Regions from separate parts of the Homo sapiens genome. Here regions 1, 3 and 4 are each linked to region 2. Evidence: promoter capture Hi-C in 16 types of primary human blood cells and fetal thymus (Javierre and others, 2016). All regions are on one chromosome and are shown on one strand. The core of a region is centred on a gene start or on the middle of the fragment in contact, and the rest is flanking DNA. Distances in the headings are between cores, read along the strand shown.

What was found. Contacts are between HindIII fragments. The CHiCAGO score rates a contact against its expected background, and 5 or more counts as called.
Region 1: the fragment with the promoter of ZFPM1 here is called in contact with the fragment with the promoter of CA5A in region 2 in 2 of 17 cell types (naive B cells and total B cells); the score reaches 7.1 in naive B cells.
Region 3: the fragment with the promoter of MAP1LC3B here is called in contact with the fragment with the promoter of CA5A in region 2 in 2 of 17 cell types (fetal thymus and naive CD4 T cells); the score reaches 8.2 in fetal thymus.
Region 4: a fragment that was not itself captured here is called in contact with the fragment with the promoter of CA5A in region 2 in 2 of 17 cell types (total B cells and erythroblasts); the score reaches 6.1 in total B cells.

The regions. Positions count from the first base shown.
Region 1 is chr16:88,450,206-88,455,344 of GRCh38, forward strand. ZFPM1 (zinc finger protein, FOG family member 1) reads left to right here and starts at 3,075. Exons shown (of 10, transcript NM_153813.3): 1 at 3,075-3,473. The coding sequence starts at 3,434. RefSeq lists silencers at 2,800-3,099, 3,110-3,199, 3,660-3,789, 4,010-4,079, 5,020-5,139. The HindIII fragment of the contact is 8,831 bases long and covers 1-5,139 here.
Region 2 is chr16:87,934,720-87,939,538 of GRCh38, forward strand. It overlaps CA5A (carbonic anhydrase 5A), which reads right to left and starts at 1,810. Exons shown (of 7, transcript NM_001739.2): 1 at 1,590-1,810. The coding sequence starts at 1,731. The HindIII fragment of the contact is 28,449 bases long and covers 1-4,819 here.
Region 3 is chr16:87,390,373-87,395,247 of GRCh38, forward strand. It overlaps MAP1LC3B (microtubule associated protein 1 light chain 3 beta), which reads left to right and starts at 1,964. Exons shown (of 4, transcript NM_022818.5): 1 at 1,964-2,095. The coding sequence starts at 2,056. It also overlaps a transcript of FBXO31 not described here. RefSeq lists enhancers at 922-1,880, 3,097-3,146 and silencers at 1,397-2,046, 2,067-2,236, 2,347-2,476. The HindIII fragment of the contact is 5,617 bases long and covers 550-4,875 here.
Region 4 is chr16:88,538,091-88,542,722 of GRCh38, forward strand. No RefSeq gene overlaps it. Among named protein-coding and RNA genes, the nearest start is that of ZFPM1-AS1, 9.4 kb to the left of the region's middle. RefSeq lists an enhancer at 1,604-2,206. The HindIII fragment of the contact is 5,589 bases long and covers 1-4,632 here.

The DNA of each region.
Region 1 (5,139 bases), core at 1,825-4,324, 520 kb after region 2:
CTTACCTCCAAATGTACAGGGTCGGCAACGCACAGGAGAACCTCCCCTGAAACCGACCCAGCATCAGGGGCAGGGCTGAGGCAGAGTAGAAGCATAGTAAGGCATTTGCCCCATCACACCCCTCTACTCCTAATAGAAGGCTGGAATTCCATGTCCACTGGCCCAGCCCACCCCTGCACACCCCCACTTCTCAAACCCCAAAAATGTCTTCTTTGGGCTGAGGTTGTTTTTGGAGGGGAGGCAGTCTCCAGGCCACTGCCAGACAGCACTTCCTATGTGTTCCAGGCCCTGCTCTCCCTGGGAGCCAGCAGGGGAGAACCCAGTGCAGCTCCTGAATGCAATTCCAACTTCCCCACCAGTGACTTTGGATGTGAATCTCAACACACCTCGAGAACATGCAGGGGCAGATGGAAACTGGGGTTCACAATGGGCAGCAGGTGGGGGGTGGAGGTCCTAGGTGGGCTCAGCCTGGACAGCCTCAGCAACCCCACGCCCTGTTCCTCTCCCACCTGATCAGGGACTCCTGGAAAGCCCCACTTGGATGTCACCTTCTCCAGAAAGCCTTCTCTGATTTCCCCAGGCAGAGATGGCCGCTCCTGCTCTGGGCTCCCCCAGACCATCCTCTAGACAGCATGCCTTGTGTCTCTTCCTCAGTGTATGGTTATCGTCATGACCACCCTGAGGGTTTAATGGTGTGTGCAAGGTCCTGCAGCTTTACCACTCGACATCAGCAGGCAGCCTCCCCTCTTGGCTGCGGTTTTCTCATCTGTAATAATGCCTTCCTCCGGGCAGGTAGAGGGACAGAGTGTAGAAGGAATGTGCTACAAAAGCAGCCCTGGCAGGGTTAGGGGACCTGTGACCGGTGCAGGGGCACAGGGCCCGAGCTGGGAAGGGCACCACACCGGGCTCAACATCCTGCCCTTGATGCCCTGGGGTTTTGGGGTTTGGGGGTTTTGATCAAGGGGGCTCCACATTTTCATATTTTCATTTTGCATGGGGCCTTGCAAGTGATGGAGGCAGGGCAGCAGGCTGTGGTCTGGACCTGCCGCCTGCCCCCTTCGCTGGCTTCCCTGGGCATGTCCCTCCATGTTTTCATCTATATATGGGCTCATAGAAATAAATCAGATCAGGCAAAGCAGCAGCCAAAATGATCCCCATCGTCTCCTCCTGCAGCCTAGACAGACATCAATCATGGATGATCATGGCTGTCTCCTGTTGACCCTCGGAATCCACCTCAACACAGATCTCCGCCCGTTCCAGCAGCGCCAGCCTGGGTGCCACTTGCTGTGCGTGGAGCTTCAGACCCAGCCCAGGTGCCAGCCCATGGCCACCTCCTCCAGGAACTCCCCTAACTCACAGGTCCACATACTCTAAAGTGGACTTCTTTGGGGAAGGAGGCGAGGCCTGGTGGGAAACCCAGACAGGTAGGTGCTCCATCCAGTTGACAAGCACTGGGTGGGGGCGGGAGGGTGGGGGGGAGGTCCTAGGTTGAGTGAACCAATCAGACATGGGCCCCACCCCCTCCAGAGAGCAGCTGTGGGAAGGCTGTGCCCACTGGACCCTGGCAGAGAGCAGGAAGGGCTGGAGGACCCGTATGCCCCTGGGCAGCTCTCTTGGCCTCCTGGTCTCAGTGTTCCTGTCTGTCCATGGCAGTGGGGAGGGACGGCGCATATCCAGTGTTGTACCCCTGCCTCTCCTACCCACCCGCCACTCTCCTGTACCAGGCTCTGAGGGTAAGCCCCCACTTCTCCCCTTCCTTGGAGCCAGGGAATAGGTCACAGAAGTTGGCACGAGATGGGGTCTTAGGAGCTCCCAGCAGGCTGGCGGGTGGTGTGACAGTCCTGCTGTGCGATGATCTCATCATCAGGTGGGAGGGGTCCTTCCTGTCTGCCCCTGGGCCCACTGACGCCCGTTTCTTATGAGTACGGGGGATGGGGGAGCAGGTAGCAAGTGTAGACCGAGAACATTAAAAGGAGATGATACAACTCAGCTGGGAGTGGGGGACAGCCCCCCAATGCGTGACCTTGAGCAAGTCCCCGAGCCTCCGTGAAGTGGGGCTCTTGAACACACCCCAGAGGGCAACAGTTCTCCATTTCCAGGCCTGAGCTGACAGCACCGCGCCCACAAACCTCGCTGACCTCTGACTGCTCCGAGAGGGGGCTGTGGCCCGGGCGCTGTGGGCAACTCCTTCGTGGGTCTCCTGCGGGGCGCCCTGGAGAGGCTCGGTGAGGAAAGAGGCCCCAAGTGGCAACGCCCAGGGCTGCCGGCTCCCGCGCCCCCTCCTCGATTTCCAGCCTGGTCTGAGCTCACAGGGGAAGACCCGAGATCCTGCTCTCAGTTGGCGGACCCCACCGCAGTCTGGGACGGAAGCCCCCTCCCTGGCCCGAATCCGCTCCACACCCCAAGTCTGGCCCAAGAGAAACGTGGGCGTCAAGGCCTCGGGCTTCCTGAGCCGGTTGTCACTGCCCCCACCGCGCACGTGGAGCGTGCGGCAGAGCCCAGGGGTCTAGGGAGGGACCAAGGGCTGGGGGCGGAGTTACAGTGCGGGGGCGGAGCCTCGGCGTCTCAGGACCCAACCAGGTCGGGTCAGGTTTGGAGGCGGAGCTGGCGCCGAGAGGCGGGGCGCAGGATGCGGTGCCGCGGGGCAGCAGAACAGAACCGAATAGGTCTCAGACTCCCAGCGCGGCCTGGGGACATGACCTCCGGGCCAAAGAGGAGTGGGGGAGGCTAGAGGTCTCCCCGGGGCGCGGGCGGGGCCGAACCAGGAAGGGGCGGGGCATCGAGCGGGGCGGGGACAGTGCCTTGAAGGCCCAGACGGACAGGGGCGGGGCCGCAGCGCTGGGGTCGGAGCCAGCGCCGTAAAGAGCGAGGCGGGCGGGGGCGCGGTCGCGGCTCTGGGGGCGGAGCCAGAGCAACGAAGAGCCGGGCTGGCGGGGGCGTGGCCGCGGCGCTGGGGGCGGAGCCGGAGAGGTGCAGGGCCCGGCAGGAGGCACGGGGCGGGGCCGGAGCGCCGGGGGCGGGGCGGGAGGTGCGGCGGCCGACGACGCTCAGGCCCGGCCCCGCCCCGTGCCTCCAGCCCGCCAGGAGCGCCCTCGCAGTGGCCGCCTGCTCCGCCGCTCGCCGCCCGCGGGTTCCATTGAGAAAAGCCGAGCGGCCGCGGCGGCGGCGGCGAGTGCGCGGGAGCGGAGGAGCCGGCACCCGCCCGTCGGGCAGTCCGCGCGCCCGCAACGCAGGACCGTGGCCTCTCGGGCCTCCGCGGCAGCTCCAGCGGCTCCGGGGCTGGGCGCGCGGGCTGGGGGCGCGGGCCGGGGCGGCCGCGGAGACCGGGGGCCGGGGGCATGAGCGGCCCCGCGGCCCCGCCGCGCCCCCGCCGCCCGCCGCCGCCCGCCCGGGGCTAGAGGCGGCCGCCGGGAGGGCGCGCGGCGCCGGAGACATGTCCAGGCGGAAACAGAGCAACCCCCGGCAGATCAAGCGTGAGTCAAACTTTGCCCGCGGTCCCCTCCGCGCGCCCGACCCCCGCCGGAGCCCAGCCGCCAGCGCCGCCCCCGCCCGTCCCCGCTCTGCCCTGGGCGCCGGCGACCTTCACCCCGCGCCGCGCCCCCCGCGCTGTGCCAAGCGCGCCGTAATCTAATCTCCGCCGGCGGCCTGGGCCCCCGCGTCTCGGCTTGGGCACCGGGGGGTTCAGCCCAGGAGGGGGCCGCCCGGAGGCCGGGAGGAGGGTGTTTGGGGGCGCGGCCCGGGCAGCTCGGCCCCTCGCGGCCTGCCCCTCCCCCGCATCTGCGAGATGGTGCGGCGATAGGGCGGCCCCGATCTGGGCTCAGATAAAGTTTAAAATATTACATTCTGCAAGTCCCGTCCTGATAAGATCGTTCTGTCGGGACGGGCTGAAATTGTGATCTTATCTCGCGCGGTTGACTCTCCCAGGCTTTGTATCTAGAAGCGAAGAGAGAGACCTGGGAGGCAGAGGGGACACCCGGGGCCGCGGAGATGCCTGGCCAAGTGGCAGGCACCGGCCCGCGCCCACCCCCACCGGTGCCGTCGCAGAGCCGCAGGACAGGGGAGGGGGTAGCGCGCAGCTGCCGCAGCCTAGGCACTTGGCTCCAGCCCCCCAGACACCCCCACCCCGTGCCCTAGCGCTGAAGTCCTGAACCCAGGCCCCGCCAGCCTGGTGACACCTCCTGGACCCTGCAAGTGTCCCAGCCAAGGCGGCATGGGCAACAAATGGTGCCCTCGGATGCCCGCGGGCACCCCCTGGCATCCCAATGGGCTGCTCTGAGTCAGAGAAGGGCCTCCCAGGACGCAGCCCCGGGCCGGGGTCGCCCCTGCACGCCACTAAGTTTCTCGCTGGTCCGGCTCCCTGCCCGGTCAGAGGCTGCTGCCCCGCCGCCACATTGCCAGTGCCCCCGCGATGAGAACTAAGCTGTCGGGGCCACTGTCTGGCCTGGGCCTCTGGGCTGTGCCAGGAGGGAGCAAGAGCACAGGAAGCTACCCTCCCCACCCTATGCCAATAATAACTTTGCGCCTCACAGTTAGGGCCCAGACGCAGGTCTTCCTCCCCGGGGCGCCTCCCCGGAGCCTGACGGGCAGGTCGTCTGAGCCCTGCCAGGAGGCCACGACGGAAACCCGCCCGCTGCCCAGCCGTAGGCGCCCGGGCACTACCTCCTTTGTCCACACGACCACTGCCACCAGGACCCCTTGTGCGGGGCCTGTGGGAGCTTCCCTACTCAGGAGGTCTCCCGAGGCGGGGGTCACAGGCATGAACCGGTTCCCGTAACCCAACTCCCTCAGCGCAAACGGGACCTGTTTTCCGAAAGTCGCCTTCTATCGTGTCAACTCAAGTATTAAAAGCCACCCACAGGTCCCGATCCGCGCTTGTGCTCTGGTTTCTTTTTCCTTCCTTCCCTGAGCGCCTATGTTCGGTTCTGGGGTGTGTGTGTGTGTGTGTGTGTGTGTGTGTGTGTGTGTGTGGTGTTTCACTGTGATGAGAAATGCAGATAGCTCGGACAGGGAGATCGCAGGTTGGAAACCGATCTCCAGCGCTGATAAGGCCGCCAGCGCCAGCGAGAGCCCGTAGCCCAGCCCAGCGGGGCGGGCAGAGCGCGCGCACTTTGGGAACTGGGACCGCGGCGGGTGCACGGT
Region 2 (4,819 bases), core at 560-3,059:
GAGGCCGAGGCAGGTAGACCACCTGAGGTCGGGAGTTTGAGACCAGCCTGGCCAACATGGCGAAATCCTATCTCTACTAAAAATACAGAAATTAGTTGGGCGTGGTGGCACACGCCTGTAGTCCCAGCTACTTGGGAGGCTGAGTCAAGAGGATCGCTTGAACCCAGGAGGCAGAGGCTGCAGTGAGCCGAGATCGCACCACTGCACTCCAGTCCACAGGTGTGGACCCCAACAGGAGGAATGAGTGTAGCTCACTCAGAGTCTGGGGTGGGCCAGGCTTTCTACACGCATCGTGTCATCCTTCCATGGCCCTGGAGAGAAAGTCTGGCCACCCCCATCTCGAGATAAGGACACAGAGGCTTGGGGGTGAAGACCTGCCGAGGCTCCACCTCAGCAAGCGTCAGTCGGACTGCATGCCTGGGGTCTGGCTCCTAAGCCCATGCTCTTTCAATGGCCCAAACATGGAATGCATGGAAGATTTCAGTTAGAAGAGAACTTGGCAGCTGCCAAAGCAGGCTCTCATTCTACGGAGGAAGCACCTGAGACCCAGAAAGAGGAAGGGCCTCGTTCAAGGTCACAAGGCACTGACCATGAAGCCAGGAGGGGCTGGCACGGGGCAGTTTCTTGGCAGAGCTGGCTGAGTGGTTTATTTGTTACAGGTTTGCTTGAAAGCGTTCTCTGCCGAAGAGTTTAGGAGCGATCGTGACTGGTTAGTGCAGCCCATTCCGCCGGGTCTGGATGGTGAGTCGTGCCAGTGTGTCCCGTGCGAACACGGACTACCCGCCTGCTCCCAGCATCTTGCCCTCCCCAGGACCCCTGAAACGGAGGCTAAATGATTCACCCAAGGTCACCAAATACAAGAGAAACGGAGTGTGGCCAGGCGCGGTGGCTCACGCCTGTAATCCTAGCACTTTGGGAGGCCAAGGTGGGTGGATCACCTGAGGTCAGGAGTTCGAGACCAGCCTGGCCAACATGGTGAAACCCCATCTCTACCAAAATACAAAAAATTAGCTGGGTGCAGTGGCGGGTGCCTGTAGTCCCAGTTACTTTGGAGGCTGAGGCAGGAGAATCACTTGAACCTGGAGGGCAGAGGTTGCAGTGAGCCGAGATCATGCCATTGCACTCTAGCCTGGGCAAAAGAGCAAAACTTCATCAAAAAAAGAAAAAAGAGGGCCGGGCGCCGTGGCTGATGCCTGCAATCCCAGCACTTTGGGAGGCTGAGACAGGCGGATCGCGAGGTTAGGAGTTCGAGACCAACCTGGCTAACACAGTGAAACCCTGTCTCTACTAAAAATACGAAAAATTAGCCAGGAGTGGTGGCATGCACCTATAGTCCCAGCTACTCAGGAAGCTGAGGCAGGAGAATCGCTTGAACCCGGGAAGTGGAGGTTGTGGTGAGCTGAGATCACGCCACTGTACTCCAGCCTGGGCCACAGAGCGAGACGCCATCTTAAAAAAAAAAAAAAAAAAACGGAGTGGAAATCTGAACCCATCTGGCTCGGGACGGTCTCTCCTCTCTCCTCTCGAAAGACCCCATCAGCTAAGACAAGGATCCAGTCGCATCTTAGGAAATTTGAGGCTCTACTTACAAGTGTTATTGCTGGTTTGCCATGCACAGGAACGCTGAGAACACCATCGCCCTGGCCTCATCGAACGACTCCAGAGAGGGGCCCACATCTGCTCAACCAAGAAGGAGAAAGCTGAGGTCTTCCAAGTGTTCCTCCCCAACATCTTGGGTCTGTTCCCACTGACTCCAGTCTGAAGAGGGTGATGTTCCCTGCTGTCTGTTCTCACTTTGATCAGGACCACTGTGGACTGGCGTGTACCCACCTCTTTTTGTAGAAACTCATCCCAACCCCTGAGCCTAATGGTTAAAGTTCAACCCATGCCTTTCCCAACAGGGTGGGTCCACAGGGATTAGTGGCCTCTGCTGGGGACAGGCCACTCAGGTCACTGGGCTTTGATCTGGCAAACAGGAGCACAAGTCTGCCAGGGAGCTAGAAAAACTGTACGGTGGGGCTGCGTGAGCACCAGGGGATTACGCGGGAGGCGGGGGCGAGTGGATGAGAGCAGAGTCCCTGTTTCTTTCATGGGGTTGACCGTGTGGTTTGGGGCTCCGGGACACTCAATACCAGGCACAAAGCCATGGTGTGCATGTGAGGAGGGACTGGCAGGCAGGCTCAGAAGTACAGGAATGGGACTGGCCAAAGCGCTGCTGGGTAGACAGGCCAGGGGAGCAGGGAGCTTCTGTCCACCCACCAGGGCTCCTGAAGTCATGGAGTCCTTGCTTGCCTTAAAATAGGTGCGATTTGATTCATTCATCCTCCCCGGAAGCAAGATGCCCTGTGGCTTCGGACACTTCCAGGTCATGCCTGCTGTCTTGGCATAAACATTAACAGGGCCACCTTTCTTTCTTTCCTTTTCTTTTTTTTTTTAGACAGAGTTTCACTTCTGTTGCCCAGGCTAGAGTGCAATGGCGTGATCTCGGCTCACTGCTACCTCTGCCTCCCAGGTTCAAGCAATTCTCCTGCCTCAGCCTCCTGAGTAGCTGGGATTACAGGCGCCCACCACCATGCCCAGCTAATTTTTTGTATTTTTAGTAGAGATGGGGTTTCACCACGTTGGCCAGGCTGGTGTTGAACTCCTGACCTCAGGTGATCTGCCTGCCTCGGCCTCCCAAAGTGCTGGGATTACAAGTGTGAGCCACTACGCCCAGCCTCTTTTCTTCGTTTCTTTTCTTTTCTTTCTTTCTTTTTTTGAGATGGAGTCTCGCTCTGTTGCCCAGGCTGGAGTGCAATGGCGTGATCCTGCCTCACTGCAACCTTTGCCTCCCAGGTTTAAGCAATTCTCCTGTCTCAGCCTCCTGAGTAGCTGGGATTATAGGCACACACCACCACAACGGCCAATTTTTTGTATTTTTAGTAGAGACGGGGTTTCACTGTGTTCCCCAAGCTGGTCTCGAACTCCTGAGCTCAGGCAATCCACCCACCTCGGCCTCCTAAAGTGCTAGGATTACAGGCATGAGCCACTGCGTCCAGCCTCTTTTCTTTTCTTTCTTTCTTTCTTTCTTTCTTTCTTTCTTTTTTTTTTTTTTTTTGAGGTGAGGTCTTGCTCTGTCACCCAAGGTGGAGTGCGGTGGTGCCATCATGGCTCACTGCAGTCTCAATCACCCAGGCTCAAGTGATCCTCCCTCCTCAGCCTCCCAAGTAGCTGGGACTATAGGTGCATGCCATTATGTCCAGCTAATTTTAAAAATTATTTGTAGAGGCAGGTTCTCGCCATGTTGCCCAGGCTGGTCTTGAACTCCTGGGCTCAAGCAATCCTCCCAGAGTGGCCTCCCAAAGTGCTCGGATTACAGGCATGAGCCACTGCCCCTGGCCTGGTACCTCCCTTCATGCCCAGGGTCCACATGGGTATGTTAGCTGGTCACTCTAGCCAGGCAGCTGGTGATATTTGCAGACGCCAACCCACAAAGAACCTTCCTTTGGGTCCTTTGAGCGGCACAGCAGTTTATTCACCCAGACACCTTTTACCTGTGAAATGGAACCCATGGGATTGGGATGCACCAGTTTGTGACTTCTTGTTGTTGTTTAAACTTACAATCTTTTAGGGGGCAGGGCTATCATAACTTTTCATAGAATCCTGGAATCTTAGATCTAGAAAACCCTACAGAACACAGGTGTTGAAATGCGAGTCCACTTGTAGGCTCCTGAAAGCCCAAGAATCCCACTGAAATCCCCCACACAATGGATAGGGTCTGCGGCTTTCGGCCACTGCTCTGGTGGGCCCAAGAGTTTGCTTGCATTTGTTTTGAGCAACAAAAACCAAGTCTGGATGATATGTTCTCTCCTTCCCACACAGTCATGGTGGAAATGCACCCACTCTTGGGAAGTCTGATTCATTGTCATTCATTCATTGACCCACTCACTCATTCATTGACTCACTCACTCACTCATTGACTCACTCACTCATTCACTCACTCACTCATTCATTCACTCACTCATTCATTCTCTCACTCAGTCAATCATTCATTCACTCATTCATTCATTCATTCACTCACTCATTCACTCACTTATTCATTCACTCACTCATTCACTCATTCACTCATTCATTCACTCATTCACTCATTCATTCATTCACTCATTAATTCATTGGCTTTTGCCTCCATTTCCTCATCTGTAAAGTAGGGAAGATTCTAGGATTCCATCATACACGATAACACTCTGTCGAGCTGTTGTTGACACAAGTGATGTCCTTAGAGCGGCACTTTCATTGCTGCAGGCCAAGCTCCCACCCCAGGCATTGCCAGCCCCATGTGAGCAGGGGCATCTCCTGAGTACACTCACCTGGGCAGCCGATGATGCCCCACAGGCTCCTGGGGCATGTCCTCTGCCATCCTCAGCCGTCCTGCCCTCTTCAGCCTGCCCAGTTTAGGTTGACTGCGTTGCAGCAGTACCCGTGGGCTGGGGGTCTCCCTGTCTTCCTCATCTCCCTGCTGCCCCATGGCAGGACTCTGCTTTACTTACAAAATATCACCAGCCCCAGTGTATTAATCAGGGTTCTCCAGAGAGACAGAACCAATGGGATAGACAAACAGATAGATAGATTAGAGAAAGAGAGAGAGAAAGAGATGATAGATAGATAGATAGATGATAGATTAGAGAGAGATGATAGCTAGATAGGTAGACAGATGACAGACAATAGATAGGTAGATAGATAGGTAGATAGATGGTAGATAATGGATAGATGAAGAAAGATGATTGGTAGGTAGATAGATGGTAGGTAGATGAGAGCTAGATGATAGATGACAGGTAGACAT
Region 3 (4,875 bases), core at 714-3,213, 540 kb before region 2:
ATCTATGACAGTAGTTGGCTTCTCTAGAAGAAATCCCAACTGTATAAAAGCACTTTGAGAAATATATTTTCTTTCTTTTTTTTTTTGAGATGGAGTTTCGCTCTTTCCCCCAGGCTGGAGTGCAGTGGCAGGATCTTGGCTCGCTGCAACCTCTGCCTTCCGGTTTCAAGCGATTCTCCTGCCTCAGCCTCCCGAGTAGCTGGGATTACAGGCGCCTGCCACCACACCCGGCTAATTTTTGTATTTTTAGTAGAGATGGGGGTTTCGCCATGTTGACCAGGCTGGTCTCGAACTCTTGACCTCGTGATCCTCCTGCCTTGACCTCCCAAAGTGCTGGAATTACAGGCATGAGTCGCCGCACCTGGCGCGAGAAATATATTTTCATACTTTTTTTCTTCTTTTTTGTGGAGGACGGGGTCTTGCTATGTTGCCCAGTCAGGTCTCAAACTCCTGGGCTCAAGCGATCCTCCCAGCCTCTGCCTCCCTGAGAGCTGGGTTTACAGGCTTGGAGCCACCGCCCCCCGCTATTTTCATGTTTTGTATGATTCAAGCTTACAGTGTAGAGTGTATTAGCCTAATCCAATTACTTTATCCAATTGGGATAGAAGAAAGGCTTTTACAAAGTCAAAAGGAGAAATCCTGGAACTATGGGGCTCTTTCAAAGTATTAGATGTTAAAGAACAAAAACAGCCAAATAGCCGGGAGCAGTGGCTCACGCCTGTAATCCCAACTCTTAAGGAGGCCGAGGCGGGAGGGTTGCTTGAGGCCAGGAGTTCAAGACCAGCCCGGGCAACACAGCGAGATCCCGGCTCTACTCCCAGCTTCTCGGGAGGCTGAGGCAGGAGGATCCCTTGAGCCCAGGCGACCGAGGCCGCCGCGAGCTATGATCGTGCCACTGCATTCCAGGCTGGGCAACAGAGCAAGACCCTGTCTCAAAAAAACCCCAAAGAATCTAGTGCTGTTCCTACAGAGACACATTGGCCACAGGCTGAGGTGGGCAATAGCAACCAAATATCGCATGGTGGTTTACGCACTGCAGCCCATTTGGAGTCCTCAAATATGACTGCCCTTTCACAGATGAGTCTGAGACTCAAAAACTGTCACTAGCGTAAGGTTGTCCAGCGAGTTTAGTGGCTGGGAGGCTGAGGGGTAGACAGGGCGGCTAGCGATGTGGGGCAGGCCTGGCAGTCGCCACAGACGACCTAACGGTAGGAAAATCTTACAGCCACCAGGAGAGTTCCAGGCGCCGCGGCAGGGGGACTGGGAGAGGGGACTGCGCCCAGAATGAAGGCTCGGGACAAAAGCAGTTGCGCAAACGCGCCAAGGCTGGGCGTCGAGTGACCGCGGGCGGAGGTCACCAGCGGCCACTCCCCGGAAGCCACCCACGGACCACGCGCGCCCCTGCACGCAGAGGGGGCCAGGGCTCCACGGGCGAGCGGCGACCCTGCCTCCCGGAGACGGCGCGGCCTGCCCTGCGCGCCTCAGCCCCGGGTGCCGGCGTCTCGGGCAGCACCACCAAGTCTCTCTGGAGGGGAAAGGATGGTCGGATTTGCCCCATGTCCCTTCCTCTGACCCCTCCCTCAAGAGTGCCCCGGGACACCCCGCCTGTGGCTCAGCCTCCCCCGCCCCGCGCTGCCATCTCCTCAGGGCCGGGCAGCAGGCTCCCGAGCGCCCACAGACCCGGGGTGCGGCCCAGCCCACAACCGTCACCTCAGGGGCCTCAGGCGCCCAGCGGTGCTGGGCGGGGCTGGGGCACGACCGGGAGCATGCGCAGAGCGCGCGTTTCGCCCATCGCGCACGCGCACACACCTGCTCCGCCCCCACGCTGCGTGCCGCTGCTGGGTTCCGCCACGCCCGTCATGGCGGCGGCCCCGGCCGGCTCTGGCCCCGCCCCTCGGTGACGCGTCGCGAGTCACCTGACCAGGCTGCGGGCTGAGGAGATACAAGGGAAGTGGCTATCGCCAGAGTCGGATTCGCCGCCGCAGCAGCCGCCGCCCCCGGGAGCCGCCGGGACCCTCGCGTCGTCGCCGCCGCCGCCGCCCAGATCCCTGCACCATGCCGTCGGAGAAGACCTTCAAGCAGCGCCGCACCTTCGGTGAGTGTCGCCGCGAGGGCGGCGGGTGCGGCGGGGCCGGGGTCCGAGCTGTGGAGGGCGGCAGGGCCTGGGACGCCGTGAGGGGTCGGGGCCGAGCCGGGAGGCCGAGCGGGGCCGGTGGCTGCCGGCCGGCGGGGCCGAGGGATGCGGGGCCCGGGGCCCCGTGAGGGACCCAGGCCGGGACCGAGCCGGGAGGGCCAGGGGCTGGTCTGGGCCGGGGCGGCCTGCGGACCTCTCGGAGGCCTGGGAGGAGGCAGCCGGCGGAGGGCGGGCGGGGGCCGGTGCGCTCGGGGCCCCGGGCCTGCTGAATCACCCCGCGCCCTCCGCGGCGGGGTGCCTGCCGTACCCCGGCCACCGCCGCCCCCGCAAGCGCGCTGCGGGCGAGGGTCGCGCTTCTGGGGCCCAACAGCCCCCGGGGCCGCGCTGGGCCGTTCGGCTCTGAAGCGGGGCTGCGCCGGGACCCAGCGCGTCACCTTCAGGGCTGGTTTTCCCGTCGAGGGAGCCCGCCCGGGTGCGAGTGCCTCTTACAGACCTCAGTGCCTCGGTCGAGAGGAGGGGAATGTGCTGGGCCCCGGCCTCGCCGCGCCCGGGACGGCCCACAGCGGTGTTGCCAGTTCCTGTCTGTAGCCCAGGAGCTGGGGTGGGAGACTTCTCTTGGGTTTGCGATTACGTTCTCACCTTGGCACCAGGAATACCGAATACATCCCTTTTCTGCCGGTTCAGACTGGAAACCCAGCTTAGGTGTGCTGGCATTTGGTTAAACGTGCAGGTGTCACCATCACAATATTTACTCCACGCAGATGATGCGAAGTGATTATTTCCCGCTTGAGCAAGAGAACGCCGCAGATCCAGGTATCTGTTGTTGCCTAAGTTCCAGACACCGGTTTGGAAGGGAAGCACCGTGTTCATCGCGGTGGACTGCGAATGCCTGCCGCCATCCTCGTCAGGAGCCCACACAGTGGTGCTGTTTGTCTGCTTTTGCCTAGTTTCCCGGAGTCTAGAAAGAGTTTAGCATTCATTTGAGTTTGGATATAGTTTTGCAGGTCTCATTGACCATTATTTTTTTTCTTATGCCTGAGAAACTTAAGCAAATTAAAATGGACCTTAGCTTGCCAAGCATATCTTTTCAGACAGCCTCTTGAGGCAGTCCGTTGGTTAGCAAGACTTACACGTGCCTTTTTTGTTAGTAGTTTTCTTGTTAGTCACCTTAATGAACTCTTTACTGTAGTGTCTAGGCTTATTGAGCCCTGAGAGCAGCATTAAAGACAGATTTTCTTTTCTTTTTTATTTTGAGACAGGGTCTCACTCTGTCACCTGGGCTGGAGTGCAGTGGTGCAATCACAGCCCACTGCAGCCTCGACCTCCCGGGCTAAAGCGATCCAGCGGCCCCCCTCAGACCTGGCTTCTGTTTTCACCAATGAAAAGTTAACTGGGAACATTTATGTAGGAGAGATGCCCTTTTTCTCATAACAGAAACTATAGTTATTTTCTTTTTTGCTTAGTACTTTTGGGTTATTCTGGAAAAGTCTCTGCGAAGAGTGGGTAGTAAGGGTAGGAAATGTGAGACTAACACATCCGAACAAGGAATTTCCTGGAACCTAAAAGTGGCCCTGAGGGTAGACCAGCAATAATGCCCCATTTTTTTCCCATTGATGTATGGACCTTGTATATACTGTATTTTCAGGGTTTTTTCCCTTGGCTCACCTTTATTTTGCCCCCTCCCCTTTAAATATCTCTTTAATAGTCACTTTGTAGAAATGTGTCAAATATCTTAACAGCTGTTACCTTTCCTTGCTTCTGATTTTGGTAATTAAAAAAAAAAATCTTTCTAGTTCATGAATATTTTGGTAATGTTGATCATGAGTACTGACAGTTTTCAGACATGTGTAGCACAGTAAGTGAGGGAAATGAATCCTTAGAGAGAACCTCTTTATGGAGCCTAAGATAAGCCCCAGTTAGCTTGAGTGGTGTTTTCTCTTTCCAAGTGAGTGAGTTTAAGGTTAATACTGAATATAGCTCTGCTGATAAACTCTACCAGGATTGACAGGGTTCTCAAAGTTGAAATGGATTTTAAGGCTCACTGAAAACAACGCCTTCCTTTTGTAGCTAAAGAAACTGGGTGGGGCCTGGTGGTGAAGATCATGGTCCACCTAGTGGCAGAGTCTGGACTGGTACCTTTAACCTGGCATGAATTCTTCCAGTCTCCAGTAGGTAGCCATCATTTCCAGTATATTAAGTGGACCAAGACTGTGTGAGTCAGGAGACATAGTGTGTCCTTGGAGATGTGTTGGAAATATTGAATGAACTTCAAAAATTAAAATTGTGTGGGGCATGGTGGCTCACACCTGTAATCCCAGCACTTTGGGAGGCCAAGGCAGGATCGCTTGAGTTTGGGAGTTCAAGACCAGCCTGGGCAACATAGTGAGAGCTCATCTCTACCAAAAAAAGAAACCAAACAGACAAATAAGAGTTGTTGCTGTGTGGCCCAGGCCAGCTTTAACTATTGGCCTCAAGTGATCCTCCCACCTTGGTTTCCCAAAGTCCTGGGATTACAGGTGTGAGCCACCACGCCTGGCCTGGGGGAGGGGGAGTGCTTCAGTTTCTCTCTGAGAAGTAAATCCTGGAAAATCCTGGAAAAACTGAAATTTTACTTAAAATGACTGAAGATATCTCAAAACAACTTTGCAAAGAACGTGTTCTTAAAAATAGGACACCTTAGGCTCCTACCGTTTGTTTTAATGTTTGTAAAGGCTCTTAAGGATCTTTTTTGTTTTAGAAGA
Region 4 (4,632 bases), core at 811-3,310, 600 kb after region 2:
CCTGTCTCCCCACCAGCCCACCTGTCTCCTCCCCTCACCTGCATAGGCATCCTCAGTGGCCCCCTGCCCCTCAAGCTGGAGAGCATCAGCCTTGCCTATTCACCCTTCATTGTCAAAGCAATGCTTGATTTGTCCAAATCCCACCGCTTCCCAAACCCATCCACCATCGCCGACTCCCAGACCTGGGACTTCACCCTTGAGTCTCTCTGAACAGCCGCTTCCAAATCTCGAGGGTCCACTCCTCACACAGCTGCCACCGCTCCCCTCTCCCAGGCTCACCCTGCTCTGAGGCCCGTCCCCGCCCCCAGGTGCCTGTGCTTCGCGTAAAACCCCTTCTGTTACTGGCCCCATCCTTCAGAGGTCAGAAGTCCCCCTTCTCTGCCTCAGCACAGAGGAGAGGAGCCTCCCGTTGGCGGCCTGTCCCGACGGCAGCCCCTGGCCCTGCTAAGCCCACCACCCGCTGGGCTCCATGCTGCAGCTGGTTGCTCCAGGCAGTGCCTCCTGATGCCCTCTCTACTCCTCCGAGGCTGTCCTTGTCATCCAGCTCTCAGCTTAGGTGCCCCCTCAGACCTGTCCCTGGCTCACTTCCCGCGTAGGAACGGTCACTCTGCACCTCTGTCCCCAGCTCGCTCCCGTGTAGGAATGGTCACTCTGCACCTCTGTCCCCAGCTCACTCCCACGTAGGAACGGTCACTCTGCATCTCTGTCCTCTTGCCCGTCGCCTACTGGCCTGTCTCCTTTGAAAGCTGGGGCTGCGCCTGCTTGACCTCTGCCTCCCAGGCACCCACAAGTGGCCGACACAGAGGAGGGGTCTGCATCTGTTGAAGTCACAGGGGTGTGTGTGGACCACAGCCAGCCCCTCCCCATGCCCAGCAGTCAGTCCAACTGTCACAGCCCACTTTCCAGCCACACTGTCCACTCATGGCACACGGCCACCGTCACAGCCCACTCTCCAATCACACTGTCCACTGAGTCCCATGTGTGACCTGAGCTTCTTGGATCTCGGACCGCTGCATTCCAAGCTGCTCTCTCCCCACTCCTCCCCCCTCCCCACTCCCCCCAGCTTTGCCTGTGAAACTCCTTCTCTCCTCAAGACTGGCTTAAAAGGTCCCCCTCAGGGCCACCCAGCCAGGCTGTACCCGTCCCCTGCCCTGCACAGGATGGGCCTCCCGCCTCCACCCTCCTTCTTCCAGGAGGGCACCTGCTCCCTTCTACCTGAGCTGCATACAGCTCAAAGCCCCTTGCAGGCTGGCAACTCCCAGGCAGGGTCAGCCCAGCCTGCCGGGAGTCCCTCACGCTACTTGGGACACAACGTCCACGAGATGATGCAGGGCAGCCTCGCCCTCCTGAGGCCCCTTCCTCTGCCAGGCACAGGGTCTGTCCTCTCAGCCACACCATGGGCTGAGTGCCCTGACTGTGCACGAGGGCCCCAAGGTTCCATCGGGACACACCTCCTGCCCAGGCACCTGGCGGGCACAGCTGGGCCAGGACACATCCCTCTGCTGGCTTCCAGCACTCGGTTCTCGACCACCAGCCGTACTGCTGGGCACTGGCTCCCAGCCACGCCCTGGCTTACAGAAAGCTCAGGCCTAGCAGAAGCCCACCCCAGCCTGCCTGAGGAAGGGTGGGAGTGGAGAGGGCCCCCACTGCCGGCCCTGTCTCCCACACCAGGACACCAACATGCAGAGCAGGACATCACCTGTGGCTGGGGGGCTGCGTGAGCTGGCAACCGTCGGATGGGTCTGCTCTGAAAACCGGTCCCCACCTGTCCCCCGCAAGCCGACCCCTCGGGAGAGCCCAGCTTTGGAGTCTCAGGCAGAGCCTCAGGACGCCAGGAGGCAGCAAAGCCGTTGCACTCTGGCCTGCCCTGTATCTGCCGGGGCCTTGCAGAGGGGGAGGGAGGAAGATTGGGAGGAGGCAGCCTCACCCCCTCAACACCCAACCCCCTCCTCCTTGGAGGTGCCAGGGAGAGGTGAAGAGAAGAGCAAACCATGCAGCTGTGGACAGAACTCGCCTCGGGACCTCGGGCTGGGAGTGTCTCAGAGGTGAGCCAGGCAGGGGCAGGGAGGGTCGGGAGCTCCGGGCAGAGGTTAGGGTTAGGGCGGGACGCATGGAGGAGGGAGGCGCAGAGCAGGAGGTCTCGCAGCTTTTCGGAAGCGCATCCATTTCCACAGCGAGGGAAGGAGCAGGGGAGGTGACTGGCCACCCGGGAGGAGCTTGGCCACCAGACAGCCAGGTGGCCTGGACCTGGCGAGAGTGGCGAACCCGGCAGAATCCCAACCTCACAGGGCTGTTCCAGGCTGCTTCCAACACGACCCTGGAGGCACATCCTCTGATGCTGTCCTTGGGCAGGGAGCAGGGGGCTCCCAGGCACGGTGACTTGCCCAGGGTCACAGGAGTGACCACCAAGATGCAAGGGAAATACACAGCCTGAGCCCTGCCTTGCACACGGCGGCCCTCGCACCAGCACGGCCTCCCCATCTGGCACCCTCAGAGCCCCTCTGTCCCCTCAGAGCCCCAGGCCTCCCCAGCACTGCCCACAGACCTGCAGCAGCTTCTGTCTGGCTGCTTCCCTCCCTGCCGGCCAGGGCCTGGGAATCTGCATTTAACCAGCTCCCAGCAGTTTGCTCTCTGGCACGTGTGAGACCTGCACTCACAGCAGGTGCCCAGACCGTGGGCGCCGACCTCACTAGCTCACCAGCAGGAGCACACACAGCCCTGCTCACCAGGCCTTCGTCAGCTGAGGCAGGGGCGGGGCAGGGAGAGAGCTGGACCCAGATCTCTGCCCAAGGGCCGTGTCCTGCCCTGCGCGGAGTGCACACTTGGCCCTCCCCTTCTCTGACACTCCTGGTGAACAGGGTGGCGAGGGCAGTAGCCCCACCCTCGAACGCAGGGCATGGGCTGAGGCTGAAGGAATGCCTAGGAGAGTGTGGCGTGTGCAGGTGGGGGGCGGAAAGGGGCAGGGAAGGGTGAAGAGGACCTTGGTGTCCTGGCTAATCCGAGTCCTCCGTGTTGAACCCCAAACCCCAAGCAGCCGGGAGAAGCTGGAGCAGGCCTGGCACACACCCTAACTCCAGTCTGAAATTCTGGGCCCCTCCTGCACAGCCCAGATCCCCCCAGGAGGCCGCTGATGGCTCAAAGAAGGTCTCATATGCTCTCATGGGCGTATGCCACCAGCCTGAGGCAGAGACCCAAGGCCCACACGCCCGGCTATTGCCGTGAGCCGGCAGCACGTGGCCTTGATTCTCTTCCCGATGCAGGACAGGTGGGCCACGCAATTGAGGCTTAGCCAGGAAAGAATTCAAGGGCAGGCCAGGGTGTTAGACGGCAGCAGTCTGTTATTGAACAATTTTACTCCTTGCAGAGCAAGGCTAACTCCCTGGCAGTGCATCCAGAGTCCACAGTGCTCTTGGCAACTGTATTTATAACCACTTAAACCCCTCTTCAATTACATGCAAATTAAAGGGTGGGTTAATGCAAATTGAGGAGCAGGTTACTTAGGACTTTCTTTTTGTTTGTTTTGTTTTGAGACAGAGTCTTCCTCTGTCTCCCAGGCTGGAGTGCAGTGGCATGATCTTGGCTCACTGCAACCTCCATCTCCCGGGTTCAAGTGATTCTCCTGCCTCAGCCTCCCAAGTAGCTGGGATTACAGAAGCCTGCCACCACGCCCGGCTAATTTTTGTATGTTAAGTAGAGACAGGTTTTCACCATATTGGTCAGGCTGGTCTCGAATTCCTGACCTCAGGTGATCACCTGCCTCAGCCTCCCACAGTGCTGGGATTACAGGCACGAGCCACCGCGCCCGGCTGTTACTTAGGACTTTCTAGGCAAGGGGCAATAACTTCCCCAGCATTGCCACGTAAAGCAGGTTACGTCCAGGCTGTTGCCATGGTGTTTGTAAACTGTCATGGGGCTGGTGGGACTGTGTTATGCCAGAGAACAATGAGGCAGCTAGGGATCGCCTTCCTCGCCATCTGCTGGTTCCTGCTGCTTTCCTTACTTTATCCTTTCTGGACCAGATCACGTTTTGGTCAGCAAGGTTGTGACCAGAAATGTCCTGCTGGTTTCCTACCTCAGAACAGCTCAGAGGCTGCATGTGGGTGGCCCGCCCTTGGCTCTAATAGGGTCTCTGGCTATGGAAAGCAGGCTTGGGCCTCTCAAGAGGCTGGGGGCCGTCCTTATGGGCTGTGCTCTCATGTCCCCTGCAATGCATCTCCCCCACCAGCCTGCCTGGCCTGGGCACATTGATTGTTGGGCAACTGTCACTGTGGCTGCTGTCACCTCCCCCGAGGTTCTCCCCATTAACCAGCTGGCTGCACTCCTCGTTAGACCCTGCCAACTGGGGCCTCCGAAGGGGCACAGAGCCAGCAAGTTTGTCCCTCCTGCCATCTGCTGGGAAGGGCCAGAGAGCTGGCCCCTCCTTCCTTCCACAATCAAACATGGAGGTGGCAAGGAAGTCTCCAGAGCCTGGGCTTGAAGTTTCGAGTCCTGGCTTGGGATCCAGTGTCTGCACATCCCACAGGAAGGCCGGAGACAGGGAGGAGCCTGGTGGGAAGACATTGTCAGGGAGGGCGAATTATAAATGAAGAGATGCGGCTGGCACCAATCAGATGGGCGGTGCGGGAATGGGAA